Linked DNA regions of Homo sapiens: region 1 is linked to region 2. The links are contacts of gene promoters, found by promoter capture Hi-C in human tissues and cell types (Jung and others, 2019). All regions are on one chromosome and are shown on one strand. Each heading gives the region's core, a stretch centred on a gene start or on the middle of the fragment in contact. The rest is flanking DNA. Distances are from core to core; before and after follow the strand shown.

What was found. Contacts are between HindIII fragments. The study calls those that stand out against the background at their distance.
Region 1: a contact is called between a fragment that was not itself captured here and the fragment with the promoter of TADA3 in region 2, in 4 of the 25 tissues and cell types used here (adrenal gland, aorta, mesenchymal stem cells and 1 more).

Annotation. Positions count from the first base shown.
Region 1 is chr3:9,863,773-9,868,790 of GRCh38, forward strand. It overlaps CIDEC (cell death inducing DFFA like effector c), which reads right to left. Exons shown (of 7, transcript NM_001321142.2): 7 at 2,942-3,524. The coding sequence ends at 3,362. Among named protein-coding and RNA genes, the nearest start is that of CIDEC, 14 kb to the right of the region's middle. RefSeq lists a silencer at 313-607. The HindIII fragment of the contact is 3,135 bases long and covers 296-3,430 here.
Region 2 is chr3:9,790,130-9,794,862 of GRCh38, forward strand. TADA3 (transcriptional adaptor 3) reads right to left here and starts at 2,344. Exons shown (of 9, transcript NM_006354.5): 1 at 2,087-2,344; 2 at 1,131-1,364. The coding sequence starts at 1,337. It overlaps ARPC4-TTLL3 (ARPC4-TTLL3 readthrough), which reads left to right and starts at 2,419. Exons shown (of 12, transcript NM_001198793.1): 1 at 2,419-2,995. The coding sequence starts at 2,993. ARPC4 (actin related protein 2/3 complex subunit 4) reads left to right here and starts at 2,953. Exons shown (of 6, transcript NM_005718.5): 1 at 2,953-2,995. The coding sequence starts at 2,993. It also overlaps a transcript of OGG1 not described here. RefSeq lists enhancers at 671-1,171, 2,276-2,802, 2,729-2,828, 2,803-3,329, 3,529-3,618 and silencers at 2,159-2,248, 2,309-2,598. The HindIII fragment of the contact is 18,412 bases long and covers 1-4,733 here.

The DNA.
Region 1 (5,018 bases), core at 613-3,112, 73 kb after region 2:
CACGGTGGCCATGGGATTCCAGGCAGCACACATCTCAGAATCAGTATTTCCCCCACCCCACAAAAAATACATATATGGGTCGGGCGCGGTGGCTTGCGCCTGTAATCCCAGCACTTTGGGAGGCCGAGGCCGGCGGATCACGAGGTCAGGAGATCGACACCATCCTGGCTAACACGGTGAAACCCCGTCTCTACTAAAAATACAAAAAATTAGCTGGGCGTGGTGGCGGGTGCCTGTAGTCCCAGCTACTTGGGAGGCTGAGGCAGGAGAATGGCATGAACCCGGGAGGCGGAGCTTGCAGTGAGCCGAGATCACACTACTGCACTCCAGCCCAGGCGACAGAGTGAGACTGCGTCTCAAAAAAAAAAAAATTATATGCACAAATATGGGCATCGCTGGTAAGAAGAGTGGCAAAAACACAAGTGGTTCTCTTGTTTTGGGCTCAGACATGTGACTGTGGCATCACAGGCCCCCGGGATTTAGAATTCTTCTGAAAGGCATCCTGTGCACTCCCGAGCACCAGCTTGAACAGATGAAAAGGCTGAGCTGGAGGGGCTGGGACACAGTCCACCTTGACGACAGCTGCTCCTGGCTGTGCGGGGGGCCCCAGGAAAGGCCGTTCCCCCACTAGGACCGCCAGGCCCTACAGAGGCTCAAACTCCTTTGCTGTTTGGAATCTTCCCTCCCCAGCCCCCAAGCCTCATCAGAGGCTGCCTTTTCTGTTCACTGACCACAGCTGCTTTGACTCCATTAGCCTCGAGCTCCTGGAAGAAAAGAAAGAACCTTGTTTTCCCTGGGCTCAATGCCAAGAGACCATGGGCAGTTGCTCAAGATTCACTTGTGAAACTCCGGATCTCAGGAGGAGGGAAGCTTGGGACAAATACCGAGCCTCCCACCCCCACTCCAACTCTGTTACTGAGCACTTTACGGAAGGAGCAGGTAGGCCCCGCCACAGCTTCATCAAGGGTGGACTGGGATAGCTTCTGTGCTAATACAAACATCAGGCCTCCCTGCCAGACAGCCCACCCCATGGAGCCAGCCTGGCACCGGGCCAGCCTCCAGCCATAACTGCAAAAGAGCAGGAGAGCCCGGAATAGCAGGCCCTCTTCAGCGAGCTTCAGCCGCTTTGCCCATAGGCTGCAGGGTTTGGGTCCGCTGCCATAAATAGCTCCCAGACCATCTTTGGTAATATAGGCCTTTGCCTTAGTATTTACTACATCCAAATAGGCTTTATAGTAAGAGTAGTGAAACAATAGGTTTTGTTTTGTTTTTCGTTTTTTGTTTGTTTGTTTCTTTTTTGAGACGGAGTCTCACTCTGTCGTCCAGGCTAGAGTGCAATGGCACAATCTCGGCTCACTGCAACCTGCACCTCCCAGGTTCAAGCAATTCTCCTGCCTCAGCCCCCCGAGTAGCTGAGATTACAGGTGCCCACCACCATGCCCGGCCAATATTTTGTACTTTTAGTAGAGACGGGATTTGGCCATGTTGGCCAGGCTGCTCTCAAATGCCTGACCTTGTGATCCACCCGCCTTGGCCTCCCAAAGCGCTGGGATTACAGGCGTGAGCCACTGCGGCTGGCTGTGATAGAGTTTTTGAATCCTCTTTTTTTTTTTTCCCAGAGACAGGCTCTCACTCTGTTGCCCAGGCTGGAGTGCAGTGGCACAATCATAGCTCACTGCAGCCGCGACCTACTGGGCTCCAGTGAACCTCCTGCCTCAGGCTCCTGAGTAGCTGGGACTACAGCCACCATGCTCTGCTAATTTTTTTTTATTATCTAGTGTAGAGACAGGGTCTGGCTATGTTGCCCAGGCTGCTCTTGAACTCCTGGCCTCAAGCGATACTCCTGCCTCAGCCTCCCAAAGTGCCGGGATATCCGGCATGAGCCACTGCACCTGGCCAAGTTTTTAAATCTTTCAGTCACAGACTAAATAAAACAGTCACCTACAAGTTCTACAAGTTCAGCCTTTTTTTTTTTTTTTTGAGATGGAGTCTCGCTCTGTCACCCAGGCTGTAGTGCAGTGGCACGATCTTGGCTTACCACAACCTCTGCCTCCCAGGTTCAAGCGATTCTACTGCCTCAGCCTCCCAAACAGCTGGGAGTACAGGCGCCTGCCATGCTGGCCAGCTAATTTTTTTGTTTTTAATAGAAACCGGGTTTCACCATGTTGGTCAGGCTGGTCTTGAACTCCTGACCTCAGGTAATCTGCCTGGCTCGGCCTCCCAAAGTGCTGGGATTACGGCGTGAGCCACCATGCCCAGCCTAAGTTCAGCCTTTCATGCTTGTCTTGAGTTGTCCAATACTGGAAAATGCCAGCTCACACTGATGAGAAGCTCCTACTCTTTGGGGCTACCTATGAGCCCACTTTGAAATCCCGAGGTTGAAAGTCCTGAACATGAAAGATAAGCTGTCTGGCAAGTTAGGATGGGCATTGATGGAGAAATGCCTTACAGCTTGAGTAGTACTTTTTCACCTAACCACTTAAACGGTTATTATAAAATGGGACACTGAGAAATTAGAAGAGTGACTTAATCCCACCTGCTCAATTGAAGCTCCTCTGATAGGTGAATTTAATTAGGAAATTGTTACTTATGGTATCAATTACATGGTCAGCTCAAGCCTCAAATTCAGCTGACTTTAGTTTCAAAATCAACTGCAATTTTGTTTTTTAAGGAGCCTGGGGTCTTGCTATTGTGCTCCAGCCTGGCCTTGAACTCCTGGTCTCAAGGGATGCTTCCACCCCAGCTTGCTGAGTATCTGGGACTGCAGGCACGTGTCACTGTGCCCAGCTGTTTTTTTTTTTCTTCTTTGGTAGAAAAAGTGCCATTAGCTGTAATCCTACATTAAAGAGAATACTTTGACAATAGATTCGTCTCTTCCTTTAGCCCCCTCCAACCTTCCAGATAAAACCCCACCCCAAAGAACACAGGCAAAGAAGATACATCAGCCTCAATAATTTATTGCAAACTCCCTAATATCACATGCTAGTGCGCTTGCGAATTCACTCAGGAATGTTCCGGGATGGGGGCCAGAAGGTAGAGAGCACCATGAAAGTACAGCCTGCGAGGCCAGATTGCTAAGGGGCAGACTTCATGCCAATGGAGGGACAGACTTCAGGACCAGTCTGGATGGGCTAAGCTGCCTTGGGCAGGAAGGAGCTGGATCAGGCCAGGAGCTTGAGGTTCTCCTTTGGCCAACCCACCCCAGGTTTCCAGCTCCTCCTCCTCACTCAGGGTCCTGCGCGGTGAGGGAGGTGTGGGGAGGTTCGCGGCTCTACAGCTGCCAGGCTTGTGGGCACTACCAGTTAAGCGTGAGGCCCCCAGTCAGTCCTTCACTGGGGAAAGCTTCCAAGGACTTGGGCTTTCACTGCAGTATCTTCAGACAGGTCGGGATAAGGGATGAGGCCTTGCCCTTGGGGGGCTGCCCTTCCTCCGTAGCATCGAGGAGCTGCTGCAGGTAACAGGAGGTGCCAAGCAGTACGTGGCCTGTGGCCTGCATGCTGAAGAGGGCCCAGCGGAAAGCTTCCCTGGGTGGAATGAGAGGGCACGCAAGTCAAAACCACGAAGTAGGTCGGGCATGGCGTTCACGCCTGTAATCCTAGCACTTTGGGAGGCCATGGAGGGCGGGTAACCTGAGGTCAGGAGTTTGAGACTAGCATGGCCAACATGGCGAATCTCTGTCTCTACTAAAAATACAAAAACTAGGCAGGCATAGTGGTGGGTGACTGTAATCCCAGTTACTCCAGAGCCTGAGGCAGGAGAATCGCTTGAACCCAGGAGGCGGAGGTCACAGTGAGCCGAGGTGGCACCACTGCACTCCAGCCTGGGTGACAGAGCAAGATTCAGTCTCAAAAAACAATCAAACAAAAAACACAAGGCTGGGCTTGGTGGCTCATGCCTGTAATCCTATAACTTTAGGTGGCCGAGGTGGGTGGATCATTTGAGGTCAGGAGTTTGAGACCAGCCTGGCCAACATGGCGAAACCCCGTCTCTACTAAAAAATACAAAAAATTAGCCGGGCGTGGTGGCAGACACCTGTAATCTCAGCTACTCGGGAAGCTGAGGCACGAAAATCACTTGAACCTGGGAGACAGAGGTTGTAGTGAGCTGAGATTGTGCCACTGCACTCCAGCCTGGGTGACAGAGTGAGTCTCTGTCTCAAAAATAAATAAATACATAATAAATAAAAACAAGAGTGTACCCCCTCCCTGCACCCCCTTATTCCCATGCTGGCCTGGAAGGGATTGGTTTCATTATGTTTGTTTTCTTCATTAATAACATTTGAATACCACTGAGGTGGTAGCACTAAAAGCATTTCATCAATTCTAGAGCGATGTGCAAATAGGAACAGATGCTGCAGATGGGATCAAGATTAGTGCGAGGACCTGCAATTCCACCTTAACTGAGATGCCCGGAACCTCCCTACTTTCTCATGCAAAACCCCAGCTCATTTCATAAGGCTTTTATTTTTCTACTACTACTTTGGACCAACCAGATTAATCTCCATAACATGGTTCTGCACCTTGAGACACTCTGTTCTAGACTCTGAGGCCTGTCCAAGCCACCTGCAGTCTAGCTCATGTTCAGAGTGCTGGACATGAAGACATCCATGCCTGGCATGAGCATGTACTGAGAACAGAACCTGAATCAGGCAGGCCTAAGTCCTAATCCAGTCTTATTAGCTGGGTGAACTTCAGCAAACTGCTCTAGCTTTGAGCTTCAGCTTCCTCATGGGTAAAATGGGATTGCACCTGCCACCCAGGGTCATAAGGCTGAAATAGCATAAAGCAATTAACATGGGGTTGGATGTTTGGAAAGTAGGGGAAATGGGGAAGCGGGAGCGGGTTCTAACCTCACATATTCTCATGCTTCTTGAGACATTTGGTTAGACTTTCAAAAATAAGTTTTAAGAAAAGTTCATTATATAGTACAAATGACTCTGGTCCATAAGACTTGCAAATTAATTCTGTCATATGGAGGGAAGATTATTTCATCCCTCCCATTCCCACAGGGGAAAAAGC
Region 2 (4,733 bases), core at 1,094-3,593:
TCTGTGCCTGGCCTCCTAGAACTTTATTCATATACTTCTCATAATCTCATTCACTTGTTCATCTATACTGATTCACTTCTGTATCACCCATGCCAGTCACATACTGTTTAACAGAAGAGTCCTCTCAGCAAACCTTCACTTCGATGTCACCACTACTGAGATGCCTTCTCTCAATCAGTTACCCAGGTTCTTAGATGCTAAAATACAACTTGAGTCATAGCCTTCCTCAAGGAGGGTCCATGGATTCCCAGGGACAAGTTAATTCCATTCATCCTTTTAGGTCCAGTTGGCACCTCCTTCCTCCACAAGTCTCTGGCACTTCACAGCTCCAACGTGCACCCAATCGTGTTGTTTGGTCACACTGGAATGACCATCACACCTTGTCTCTTCAACTAGACCATAAGCTACTGAGGACCAGAAAGCCCACCTTAACCATCTCTATTTTGCAGAATACAGCATAGCGCCTGGCACACAAGGCTCAAGGCATCTTTATGCAGTGAATAAAGTCATCAGAGTAGCAAATAAATAACATCTGAAGTACTTACTTAGTGTCTGGCATTGGGCTGAGTTTTTGCAAAAAATTCTCTTTTAATCCTCACAAAAGCACTAAGGTAGGTCCTATTATTCACCCCACTTTGCAGATAGGGAAACTGACACTCAGAGATATGAGGCAACTTTCTCAAAGTCACATAGCTAGGAAACAGCAATGCTAGCAAGCGCTTATGCCAGGATTCAAATCCAGGTTTCCCCATTCCAGTTCCCTAGGACTGCTAACCACAACATCACATCACCTGGTATGTACTTGACTTTCTCACTTTCCTAGTTGCCAAGCTCCCTGACAGCCATAACTGTCCTAATTACCTTTCTCTAATGACTAGCATAGGACCCAGAACACAATGGGGGATGAGTGGGGTGCCAATAAAAGCTTACTGAATTAGAAATCTTGCAATTTAAGAGGATCATGCATATTCTTGTGTATTTTTTGTGTCATGCAAACCCAGTTTGCGTCTCTCTCCCTCTCCCCACAAACCCCTGTACCCCAAGTCTCAGCATATGGGGCTAACTCAATGACCCATCCCATAACTTGTTGCAGTCCATCTCTGGTGCTGGCCCCTCTCTGGGGTTATCACCTGGGTTTCGGCCTCAAGCACACGCAGGCGCCGGCTGGCAGAAGACAGCAGGGTCTCCAGCTCCAGCTGCAGGGTGTCCAGCTCCTCGATGCCGATGCCATCATCCTCAGAGCGTGCCAGCACTGCCGTGTAGCGGGGACAGACCTTCAGGTGATCCACAGACTTGAAGTCGTGGAACTGCAAGGGGCAGTCTTTCAACTCACTCATGGCCCAGGATATGGGGATCCTGTGGAGCTGGAGAGGACAGGGCCATTGATGGGAGACAAAGTGGTCTGAGAAAAGCCCAAGGGCTTCTTACCTCCAGGGACAGCCTCAAGGAAGCCCAGCTTCAGTCCCTTACTGACAAAATTGATGGCACAGTTCCTACTCACAGGGCACTTAACTGGGTACCAAGCTAGGTGCAGAGCACTTTATCAGTTTATCTCACTGAATTTCTCACTCAGCACCATGAACAAGGACCATTGTGATCTCGTTTTTACAGAGAAAGAAACTGAGACTCTGTAAGGGTGGGTATGTGCCTATGCTTCCAAGATGCAATTTGAACCCCGCTAGTCTTGAGTCTGCACCCTGATCACCATGCTATACTGCTATGCCTTGCCTCGCCTTTCTGATGCTCTTTCCTTCCCTTCTATTTCTCTTGGGTTCTGCTAAGACTTTGAGTTCCAAGCACCCCATTCTTACCATGTTCTCTGGGACTCTTGGCCTCTTTTCTTACCCTATTCCACCTTTCTCCCTTCTCTAGTCACTAACAGTGGTTTAGAACGTGGGCTGGTAAGCCAGACAGACCTGGGTTCAAGCCCAGGCTTTACCATTCTCTACTTATATGCCCCTGAACATGTTATTTGACCTTTTTCAGTCTCAGTTTTTCCATCTGTAAAATGGGGACAAAAGAAGTCTCGGTCTGTTTCCCCATTAAAAGTCTGAATCTGAAAAATGGGGATAACAATAGTACCTACCTCCCTGGGATGTTCTGAGGATTAAGAGATGATGCCCGTCAAGAGCCCAGTTCAGTGTCTGGCACAGAAGTGGGACTGTTTAATGGCTGGCCCCGCCCGGGGGTCGCCCAAATGTCCCGCCTTCAGAGTCCTCGTTCTCTAGGGACACCCTAGTGCGACCCCCGCCCCCTCTACCTCCTCGCTGCGGCCTCCTACGGCCCCAGGGGCCGCGGGAGGGGGCGGGGAGTTCCGGTCGATGTGAGCAACCGCCCCGGAACTGGCTATGGGCGGGCCCCTTGCAGTTGACGCGGGGGCGGGGAGTCAGCGAGGGCGAGCCTACTGGAGTTTGCCGGGGGTGGGAAGAAGGTGGGCCTCGAGCAAAGCCGCTAGAGGTGGGGTGCGGGTGGTCGGCCTCAGGCGAGCCCCGGGGCACAGCCCGGGGCGGGAGGCGGAGCTTGGCGGCCGAGATCTCCGCGCTGCAGTTAGCCCCGCCGAGCGCCAGGAGCTGCGGGTAGGAGGGGCGAGAGAAAGGATGGGGGTACAGAACCGGAAGAAACGAAGGGCTCGTCCGCTTCGGCTTGTCCTAATTTGGTGCCCAATCTGAAGCTGGGCTGTACCATTGCATACCTGGGGGAGGCTGTGGCAAAGGTGACAAGAAGGCCGAAGGCACAAAGGGAAGCTGCACCCATTCCTGGAGGAGCTTAAATAGTGACTCGAGTGCAAGAATTTAAAAATACCGAGACAGCCCTAGGTGGAAAACTTCCGGAAGGCCCAAGCGTTCGTAAGGGCTCTCTACCCCGCTCGGAGCATAGATGGTACCGTCCGGAAGTCCGGGCGGAGACCGTAGCTGCGCTTCTCGCGAAAGGGCAGGCATCGCGGGGCTGGCCACTTCCGTACTTCCGCTTTCCGGCCCAGCCAGCGCCCGCGATGGTGAGAGAGCCGGGCCCCCGGCCAGGGACCCCCGGCTGTTCGGCCTCAGGGCAGTGGGTCGGTGGGAGATGTGGCTTTGCCGCAGGGGCGCGGGGCCGAGGGATGTCCGGGGGTTGTGGGGACACGATGAGGGTGGGAAAAAGAGACGGGGCGGGGGCCCGAGGTGAGGAAGGGGCGAGTGGGGGTACTCCCTGGTATGAAGTGGGCCTTGTGGCTTCACGGTCAGCCTTCGAAGCAGGTAGGGGCTTTTCCTGAGCCCTGTAGGAACCCGGAAGTGGGGTCTCCTAGGCTCTTTGGAGCATTTCGAGGGTACGTAGTCGGCCTCTTAGCCTCTGAGGCATGAAGCAAGTCCACCTGCCTATCCACAGTGGAACTTCACGACATACGCCCTTTGTCCTCTTCTGCCTTCCTGACCCTACAGTTGCTTAAGGCAGGCGGCCACACTTCCTTATCCCATTCTTGGTACCTCCAGCCCTGCTTCCACCCCATTGGAGGATCTCTCGTGTTGCTTCCATTCAGGCCCTTCCTGGTCAGAACTGAACTGTGTCAGCCTTAGTGTATGTTAGCTGTGATACTGCTCATCCCTCCCTTCCTGGAAGTCCTCCCTTTTTCATACATGTGGGCCTTTTTCATACATGTGGGCCTTTTTCATACGTGTGGGCATTCCTGGGAGTTGTGACTTTGGATGACCATCTCCCTCTTCGTCACACCTTCCCTGGTGATACCGATCTAGTCTCCTGGCTTCGATAACTTTCTTCATTCTGATGACTCCTAATCTGGCTTCTCAGCTCTCTTTCAAGGTTTGCCTGGATATCTTGAAGAGACCTTGAAATTAGACCTCTAGTTCAAAACTCATATTCTATTCTAAATTTGTTCTTCCTCCTGGGTTCCCTATCCTGGCAAACTTTTGTGACCTCATGTCTCTGCTAAAAATCTGTATTTTTTTTTTCTAGTGGGGCACATGCCTCTTGATTTTTAAAAGTTCAAGTTTATTGAGGTATTACATGAGACTACATCTGTTTTATTCATGAAAGGACAGGCGTCACGGAGCCAGTCACCCTTTTTAGGTTTACTTTCTATAACTGTTGACAAAGGCCAGGCGTGGTGGCTCACGCTTGTAATCCCAGCACTTTGGGAGGCAGAGGCGGGCGGATCACGACGTCAGGAGATCGAGACCATCCTGGCTAACACGGTGAAACCTCTTCTCTACTAAAAATGCAAAAAATTAGCCGGGCGTGGTGGTGGGCACCTGTAGTCCCAGCTACTCAGGAGGCTGAGGCAGGAGAATGGCGTGAACCCAGAAAGCAGAGCTTGCAGTGAGTCGAGATCGTGCCACTGCACACCAGACTGGGCAACAGAGTAAGACTCCGTCTCAAAAAAAAAAGCGTTGCAAAAACTTGCTGGGTATGGTGGCATGCGCCTGTAGTACCATCCGCTCAGGACACTGAGGCAGGAGGATCACTTGAGCCCAGAAGTTCGAGGCCGTAGTACACTGTGATCACTCCTGTGAATAGCCACTGCACTTCAGCCTGGACAATATAGCAAGATCCCGTGTCTTAAAAAAAAAAAGTCAAGTTGTGTAACCACTACTGCAACCAAAATACAGAACATTTCCGTCACCCCAAAAAGTTCCCTCAAGCCCTTTTGTAATCAGTCCTCTCCTTCCCACCCCAGACAACTACTGATTTTTCCCCCCTGTAGTTTTGCCTTTTTCAGATTGTCATGTAAATGGAATTCT